3 separate regions of the Homo sapiens genome follow, and all the other regions are linked to region 1. Evidence: promoter capture Hi-C in 16 types of primary human blood cells and fetal thymus (Javierre and others, 2016). All regions are on one chromosome and are shown on one strand. Each heading gives the region's core, a stretch centred on a gene start or on the middle of the fragment in contact. The rest is flanking DNA. Distances are from core to core; before and after follow the strand shown.

The links. Contacts are between HindIII fragments. The CHiCAGO score rates a contact against its expected background, and 5 or more counts as called.
Region 2: a contact is called between a fragment that was not itself captured here and the fragment with the promoter of OLIG1 in region 1, in 3 of 17 cell types (M1 macrophages, M0 macrophages and monocytes). The highest score is 5.5, in M1 macrophages.
Region 3: a fragment that was not itself captured here is called in contact with the fragment with the promoter of OLIG1 in region 1 in 2 of 17 cell types (M1 macrophages and megakaryocytes); the score reaches 5.8 in M1 macrophages.

The regions. Positions count from the first base shown.
Region 1 is chr21:33,068,733-33,071,778 of GRCh38, forward strand. OLIG1 (oligodendrocyte transcription factor 1) reads left to right here and starts at 1,409. Exons shown (of 1, transcript NM_138983.3): 1 at 1,409-3,046. The coding sequence starts at 1,515. The coding sequence ends at 2,330. The HindIII fragment of the contact is 4,947 bases long and covers 1-3,046 here.
Region 2 is chr21:33,009,906-33,012,951 of GRCh38, forward strand. No RefSeq gene overlaps it. Among named protein-coding and RNA genes, the nearest start is that of OLIG2, 15 kb to the right of the region's middle. The HindIII fragment of the contact is 166 bases long and covers 1,417-1,582 here.
Region 3 is chr21:33,032,925-33,035,970 of GRCh38, forward strand. No RefSeq gene overlaps it. Among named protein-coding and RNA genes, the nearest start is that of OLIG2, 8.5 kb to the left of the region's middle. RefSeq lists enhancers at 106-774, 775-1,442, 3,041-3,046. The HindIII fragment of the contact is 179 bases long and covers 1,430-1,608 here.

The DNA of each region.
Region 1 (3,046 bases), core at 159-2,658:
TTCCAGAAGAAAGCAAGGTTGGAGCTGAACCTGAGGCATAGGCAGGATGCTACAGGCAGAGCTGGGGGTCAGAAGCAAAGATCAGAGTGAACCCATGTGGCAAATATTGGTGGAAGAAAACCAGAACAAAGCAGCCCTGAAACCAGCAAGCACAGCCACCAAGATGCCCTCTTCCCCAGGACATTGACAAGTTATAGTAGCATGCACTGGTGCTGGGGGCAGAAAATGTCCATAGACACCAAGTAATGCTATTCTATTTGGCAAATAAAATGATTCATTCCCACCCTCAACCGATAGGACTATGTGGGTGTTTTGTTTTGTTTCTAATAAGAGGCCAATTTCTGAGTGACTTTTGCTTAAGCAAATGTCAAGTTGCTGATAGACCATCCCTTTCGGGGAGGATAGAAACCCGACCCAAAGGCTCCTTTGTCCCTAAAGACCTTTCAATCAGAGGGATGGGGAAGGAGGTTGGGAGCAGCAGGGAGGAAATATCCTAATGCTACTTGTCATTTAGTCCAGAAATTTAGCGACCTGAACCTGGCAGGAAATTATGTATTTTAAGAAAAAAAAAACATGATACACTCATGTTCATAGCAGCATAATTCGCAACAACCAAAAGCACCCCAAATGTCCATCAACGAATGAATGGATAAACCAAATGTGGTATATCCATATACTGGAATATTATTCAGCCTTGAAAAGGAAGAAACTTTGATACATGCTACAACATGGATAAACCTTGACGACAATATGCTAAGTGAAAGAAGCCAGTCACTAAAAGACAAGTGCTGTATGATTCTACTTATATGAGGGACCTAGAGTAGAACAAATTCATAGAGACAGAACAGAAGAGTGAATTCCAGGAACTTGGGTCGGGGGGAGTGGGGAGTTGTTTAATGGGTGGAGCTTCAGGGTTGCAAGTTGAAAAGAGTTCTGGAGATGGGTTGCACAACAATGTGAATTTAATTTAAATCAATTTAATGTGCACACTAATGCATATAACATTACTGAACAGTACTCTAAACATAAGACGGTAAATTTTATGTTATGAATATGTGATCACAGTTAAAAAAAAATATGAGGGAGGTTGTTTTTGAGTAGACAGTTGCTGGAGGAAGGCACGTGAGTTGCAGCCTGACCAGTGCGACCAGTCCTCCTTCAACAGCCCCGCTTGCCTTGAAAAGGCGCCCTTACTCCGCTCAGGGGGCCTGTCCCGCGCGGCTGGCACAGGCGCTCACAATAACCTCCTAAAGCGGTGCCAGCCGCACCTCCGCGCGGCCCCGGCACAAGCAGCCAATGAACACGCGGCTGCGCCCGGCCTCGCGCCTCCATTGGCTGCGCCCCGCCACCCGCTGCCCCGCAGGTTCCCAAGCCGGGTTTAAAGGGGTAGGGCGCGGGCCAGGGCCCCACCATCGTTTCCCCGCGCGCAGGTCCGCGGGGAGGGGCGGCCTGCCGACCGGCCCACCCCAGGGCGTTCCTGAAGGGCGTCCTCGGCCGCCCCCACCGCCTCCCAGATGTACTATGCGGTTTCCCAGGCGCGCGTGAACGCGGTCCCCGGGACCATGCTGCGGCCACAGCGGCCCGGAGACTTGCAGCTCGGGGCCTCCCTCTACGAGCTGGTGGGCTACAGGCAGCCGCCCTCCTCCTCCTCCTCCTCCACCTCCTCCACCTCCTCCACTTCCTCCTCCTCCACGACGGCCCCCCTCCTCCCCAAGGCTGCGCGCGAGAAGCCGGAGGCGCCGGCCGAGCCTCCAGGCCCCGGGCCCGGGTCAGGCGCGCACCCGGGCGGCAGCGCCCGGCCGGACGCCAAGGAGGAGCAGCAGCAGCAGCTGCGGCGCAAGATCAACAGCCGCGAGCGGAAGCGCATGCAGGACCTGAACCTGGCCATGGACGCCCTGCGCGAGGTCATCCTGCCCTACTCAGCGGCGCACTGCCAGGGCGCGCCCGGCCGCAAGCTCTCCAAGATAGCCACGCTGCTGCTCGCCCGCAACTACATCCTACTGCTGGGCAGCTCGCTGCAGGAGCTGCGCCGCGCGCTGGGCGAGGGCGCCGGGCCCGCCGCGCCGCGCCTGCTGCTGGCCGGGCTGCCCCTGCTCGCCGCCGCGCCCGGCTCCGTGCTGCTGGCGCCCGGCGCCGTAGGACCCCCCGACGCGCTGCGCCCCGCCAAGTACCTGTCGCTGGCGCTGGACGAGCCGCCGTGCGGCCAGTTCGCTCTCCCCGGCGGCGGCGCAGGCGGCCCCGGCCTCTGCACCTGCGCCGTGTGCAAGTTCCCGCACCTGGTCCCGGCCAGCCTGGGCCTGGCCGCCGTGCAGGCGCAATTCTCCAAGTGAGGGCGGGCCTGGGCCTGGGGCGCGACCTCGGCCCGGCCTCCCTTCGCTCAGCTTCTCCGCGCCCCTGCTCCCTGCGTCTGGGAGAGCGAGGCCGAGCAAGGAAAGCATTTCGAACCTTCCAGTCCAGAGGAAGGGACTGTCGGGCACCCCCTTCCCCGCCCCCACCCCTGGGACGTTAAAGTGACCAGAGCGGATGTTCGATGGCGCCTCGGGGCAGTTTGGGGTTCTGGGTCGGTTCCAGCGGCTTTAGGCAGAAAGTGCTCGCTCTCACCCAGCACATCTCTCTCCTTGTCCCTGGAGTTGCGCGCTTCGCGGGGCCGATGTAGAACTTAGGGCGCCTTGCCGTGGTTGGCGCGCCCCGGGTGCAGCGAGAGGCCATCCCCGAGCGCTACCTCCCCGGAGCGGAGCACGCCGGCTCCCAGTACTAGGGGCTGCGCTCGAGCAGTGGCGGGGGCGGAGGGGTGGTTCTTTTCCTTCTCCTCCGCCAGAGGCCACGGGCGCCCTTGTTCCCGCCGGCCAGGTCCTATCAAAGGAGGCTGCCGGAACTCAAGAGGCAGAAAAAGACCAGTTAGGCGGTGCAGACGGTCTGGGACGTGGCAGACGGACGGACCCTCGGCGGACAGGTGGTCGGCGTCGGGGTGCGGTGGGTAGGGGCGAGGACAACGCAGGGTGCGCTGGGTTGGGACGTGGGTCCACTTTTGTAGACCAGCTGTTTG
Region 2 (3,046 bases), core at 250-2,749, 59 kb before region 1:
ATGTCTTCGTGGAAAACTATATATCCTAAGAGAAATGATACAGCATAGTGCCTGATACATAGTAATCCGGCAAGATATGCTGGCATTAATATGATAACAAAAATCACATTATTCACATCATTAGGAGAGACTATTGTTTCCAGTCCCACACATTTCTAACACACATTGATGTGCATTTTTCCAATTAAAATAATCTTAAAGAAAGGAGGCCAGGGGGGGTACACAAAAGTAAGAACGCGTATTGCTAAAAGCAAAACAGCCCATTGTTTGACCATCCAGCTCCGCACTTACCTGCCCATATGGTGGCTCCTGGAAGCCAGCATGCTAAGCACCATGTGTACCAAATAATCACAGGGGTAGGTTAAAGAGACAGCCTTCCCCCTAATTTGACCAATTTAGCATTTGGGGAGTAGTCTGTCTGTGCCTATCTTGGGAATTTTTAAACAATGGGTTGAAAGAGAAATTAGGGGAGGCAGACAATATTTCGGAATCAACCTAATAAATGTGAACAGCTGCAATGCGATCATCAGCACAATACATGATGGTTCCTTTCTCCAAGAAAATAAATGTGCGCCTCCCCGGGGGTCTGTCCTCTGCCACCCTCCTCTACTCGCAGTATGCTTTCCGCTTGCACTGATGTGCCCTTGTGCCTCCCTTCAGCCCTTGGCTTGAAGCCCTGGACTAGATCAACCAGAGAACGGGCATCCCCACTGGGTGCTCCTCCTGTGTCTCCCCTTCAACTCATCCAAACAGAAACTCTTCCTCTTGGATTCTCCATCACAGTTGATGAGATGGGGCACCCTCATCCGTCCAGCTGCTCAGGCTTAGAAAACTAACAAAGTCCTCCACTACTCTGCACCCTCACTTGTCTATACGGAGCCATTCATCAAAGTTTGCCAATTTCACCTCCTAAAAATGTCTTCCATCCCTCCCCTCTTCTCCATGAGGGGAGTCTGCCACTGCCCAAGGTTGGAGTCTGCATTTGTCTGCTAGGGCTGCCATGACAAAGTAGCACAGACCGGGTGGCTTAAACAGCAGAAATGTATTGTCTCACAATTCTGGAGGCTGGAAGCCTGAGATGAAGGTGTCAGCAGGGTTGGTTTCTTCTGAGGCCTCTCTCCTTGGCTTGTGGATGGCCGTCTTCTCCATGTGTCTTCACATGGTCTCCCCTCTGTGTGTGTCTGTGTCCTAATCTCTTCCTCTTATAAGGACACTAGTCATATTAAGGGCCCACCCCAATGACCTCATTTTAATTTAATTACATCTTTAAAGACCTATGTCCAAATACAGTCACATTCTTAGGTACTAGGAGTTAGGACTTAAACATACCAATTTGGGTCAGGGAAACACAGCTCAATCCATAACAGGGTCCTTATCATCTCTCACCTTGACTACCATGAAACCTTGTATTTACTAAGCTTTCTACAATGATCAGATCCTGTATTTTCCATATTTCCTACCAAGGACCATGTATGACTTCTATTACCAGAAAAATACTCATCAATGAAATATTTTGAAGAAAATGGTGGTGTTCTCCTTCCAATTCAGAGACTTCTCCTTGGCCACTGTCTGTTCTGCTTTAAGCTTCTCCTTTGTCGTGTTTCTCCATGTTCCATCCCCTGGCCTCAAATCTGGGTTCTCCTCTTCTGTTTCCTTTTCTCAGGCTGGTGAGTCAGCTGGACAGTCATCTGAGTCTGGAGTTGGGGCCAACTTCTTTGGCATCACATTCCAGACAACAGAAACACTGATGAGCACAGGGCATCTGAATGGGGCCGTGAGTCATTGTTTGTAGTTTGTCAGGTGATATGGTTTGTATATTTGCTCCCACCAAACCTCATGTTGCAATTTGATCCTCAGTGTTGGAGGTGGAGCCTGGTGGGAGGTGTTCAGATCATGGGTCATGGGGGCAGATCCCTCATTGAATGTCTTGGTACCATCTTCTCGGTAATGAATGAGTTCTCACTCTATTGGTTCCTATGATAACCAATTGTTAAAAAAGAGCTTGGACCTCTCTCCTCCTCTCTCTTCTTCCTTCCTCTCTGGCTGTGTGATGCCTGCTCTCCTTCACCTTTTGCCGTGATTGGAAGCTTCCTGAGGCCCTCACCAGAAGCAGATGCTGGCACCACACTTCTTGTACAGCCTGCAGAACCATGAGCCAAATAAACCTCTTTCCTTCATAAATGACCCAGCCTCAGGTGTTTCTTTATAGCAACACAAACTAAGACATCAGGGAAGAGTGAGAACTATTTTGAAATTGAAACATGGATGTATGTTCTTCAATGCACATTGTGGGTTTCATGGAATTTTATTCTAATTCTGCAACTTGGAACACTTTTGTCCACACCCCGTTCTGGGGAGGTAATGGGGCCATGGAACCCTTTCTGTGTCCATCCATATTTCAGCCCTCCAGGAGGCTTTGCCAGGCAAGTTATACCTCACTCTGGATGAGCCTCTGGACATCAAGAGACATCAATGGTGCCAAAGCACCATACTAGATTTCAACAGAGGCAGCATGCATGGCCCTTCAGAGAATGAAGGCTGGATCCTGGTCCCTGACATAGAGACCCTAAAGCACTCTCTCATCTCACCGTTCAGAATATGTGGATCACCCCCTTGGAGAGTTCTGGCCCTCAGGAAACTTACACCTACCATCTAAAGTTCTACACTTCTACCCTGACTCCCACACTCCATAAAACCAGGGAGATGGAGCCCCAGCTGCACTGTCTCAGTCAGGGTCCCAGCAGGAAATAGCATACCCAAGTTAGGATACTTGGAAAGGGGCTAATTGACAAAGGGACTCATTACCACAATGGAGCCAGCATGTAGAGAAGCCACAAGAGATAGTACAGGGGTCAGAAGCTAGCAGAGCCAGAGCTGTCCCCAAAGAACAATGGGAGGGAGAATTTTCCAGAACCCAGAGGAAAGAGTTGTGCAGAAAAGGCTGCCTTGGAAGTAACCATGACCTAGTACTGGGGACATAGCTAAGCTGCAGTAGACATGACAGGGAGGAAGCCAAGGAGACAAATGCCTCAGTCTCCTCCCCGCA
Region 3 (3,046 bases), core at 269-2,768, 36 kb before region 1:
TCTTACAAGTAAGGAAACTGAGTCACAGAAAGGCTAAGTGACTTGCTCAGGGGACACAGCCAGTAAATGAAGGTGGCAAGGTTGTTGTAATCCAGGGCCCACCCCAAGAGGCCACCTGGCCCGCACTCCAGCAGTCCCCAGACTCTGGCTCAGCTGCCGCCCCGGGAATCCTCTGCTGCCACCCCCTGTCCCCCACCCCGGCCCCCTTAGGTGGCGCTCCTAGTGCTTCCCCCCATGCCTGGACCCCATCTGTCCCCGACTCCCCCATCTGGGCGGCGGGCGGGGCTCACAGGCTTTAGCAATTAGCGGGCGCGGGTGGGCGCGCGGCGCGGGCGGAGGAAGGGCCGGAGCAGGTGAGCCGCGGCGGAGCCTCATTAGGGCGGCCCGCACGCCCCGCGAGGGACCGTCGTTAGTGCCAAGACAGCTGCCGCTCCTGCCGGCCTAGGGCCGCAGCCGGAATCCCGGGCCACATCCCCTGCCCCGTTGTGCCTTCCACACCTCGGGCAGTCACTAGGAAAAGGGTCGCCAACTGAAAGGCCTGCAGGAACCAGGATGATACCTGCGCCAGTCCCGCGGCTGCTGCGAGTGCGCGCTCTCCTGCCAGGGGGACCTCAGACCCTCCTTTACAGCACACCGAGGGCCCTGCAGACACGCGAGCGGGCCTTCAGTTTGCAAACCCTGAAAGCGGGCGCGGTCCACCAGGACGATCTGGCAGGGCTCTGGGTGAGGAGGCCGCGTCTTTATTTGGGGTCCTCGGGCAGCCACGTTGCAGCTCTGGGGGAAGACTGCTTAAGGAACCCGCTCTGAACTGCGCGCTGGTGTCCTCTCCGGCCCTCGCTTCCCCGACCCCGCACAGGCTAACGGGAGACGCGCAGGCCCACCCCACCGGCTGGAGACCCCGGCACGGCCCGCATCCGCCAGGATTGAAGCAGCTGGCTTGGACGCGCGCAGTTTTCCTTTGGCGACATTGCAGCGTCGGTGCGGCCACAATCCGTCCACTGGTTGTGGGAACGGTTGGAGGTCCCCCAAGAAGGAGACACGCAGAGCTCTCCAGAACCGCCTACATGCGCATGGGGCCCAAACAGCCTCCCAAGGAGCACCCAGGTCCATGCACCCGAGCCCAAAATCACAGACCCGCTACGGGCTTTTGCACATCAGCTCCAAACACCTGAGTCCACGTGCACAGGCTCTCGCACAGGGGACTCACGCACCTGAGTTCGCGCTCACAGATCCACGCACACCGGTGCTTGCACACGCAAGGGCCTAGAACTGCAAAGCAGCGGCCTCTCTGGACCGCCTCCCTCCGGCCCTCCTGAGCCCTACTGAGCCCTGCTGAGTCCTGGAGGCCCTGTGACCCGGTGTCCTTGGACCGCAAGCATCCTGGTTTACCATCCCTACCCTGGCTGACCTGAGAGCTGGGGATCTTTTAAGCTTTGTATGCCTGGCCTCACCTTTTCCTCTGCCTCCCTCCCAGACCAGCCCGGCTCTCAGACACCTCTGCTTTCTAGGCAAAAGTTCTGGAGCCCAGAGCAAGGGCCACAGGTGCAGTGCAGTCCAAACAGGACCACGAGCAATTCTCTCTCCTTCATCCTCAGATTTGGCAGTAGAAGCTTGTTTTTCAGAACAGGGCTGGAGTGGCCTCTTTGAAACTCTGAACATGTTTCAACTGTAGAATAGAGCCATAATGGGTGATCTTGGAAGCTCCGTGGGCCAATCAGGCTCTGCCCCAATACCCGAGCCCTCTGGGTGTCCTGGTCCACCTCAGAGCAGAGGTCCTGGGAGCCCCTGCTGGCAGGGAGGCTGTGATGGGTGAGAACAGCCCTCCTCCGTGTGTCCTCCGTGCACTAAGAGAATTCACTGGCCTCTGCTGAAGCGGAGTTTAGACAGTTCTAGAAAGGAGTTGTCCTTGGTTGTGGGGCTTCCCTAGGGTGGAAACTGTGGTTTGGACATCCTTGTACCTTCAGGGTACCTGCTAGATATAAGGACTCACAAAAAAATGAATGAACGAATGAACGAGTGGCACAGTGCAAGTCAGGAGGTTTGGAGAGTGTGGGGAACAAGGTGGAAGTGTAAAAGTCCTGAATCCTTCATTGATGGGGGATACTGAGGCCTAAAGGATGGTGAGCACTTTGATTCTATCCAAGGCAGCTGGATTCAGACCAAAGCCCTATACTACAGTGATCCAGGTTACGAGACCTTCCTGATCCTCTCTTCTTATGTAAATAGAGTAATTAATAGTAGCACCTGACAACTGTGCTGCTGTGAGGATTAAATGAAACATCCCAGGAGTCGCCCTCTGCATGGTGCCAGCAGTGAATGGATGCCCTGGGCCCAAGGACCTGCCCAGAGTGCAGCTGCTGCTGGGTGTGGACTCCCACAGCTGAGGCTCCCCCAACCCAAGCAGCCAGGAATCTGTAGGTCATAGTGGGGCAGTCACCATGGAGACCATGAAGAGGCAGTTGGGTGTGGGGTGGTATGCTGCCTTGGCCAAGCTCTGCCAGCTGAGTGACCTTGGACAAGAGACATGAGCTTTCTTAGCCTTGGCTTCCTTATCTGTAAAGTAGGGGTGATGCTAGTACCATCTTCACAGGCCATCTGGCCTGAGAGGGAGAACCTGGCACACCACGCATATCCAATTAAGCAGAAGAAGGTGCCTGACTGCATGAGTGTCATCCCATTGAATCTTCTGGGAGGTCCTACAAGGTATGGTCTCTGTTACTCTGGGTGACATGATCTGTCCTGCAGCATCACAAGGGGTCTGTATGCCTCGGGGCGCCAAGGAACAACTCAGCACTGTCCCTGAGCTCTGTACAGGTTCCACTTCCCAAACCCCCCCAACGCAAGGCAAGGCCTCTGTTCTCACCTTTGCATGCCCTGGGGTGCCTGGTACTGAGCATGATGCACGGTTAGTTCTCTGGGAATATCCTTTGCATTGCATTGTGGACGAGGAGGGCCCATGCTCTACATGGAAAACAGACCTGGGTCTTTTTTTTTTTTTTTTTTTTTTTTTTTTAGATGGAGTCTCACTCTGTCACCCAGGCTGGAG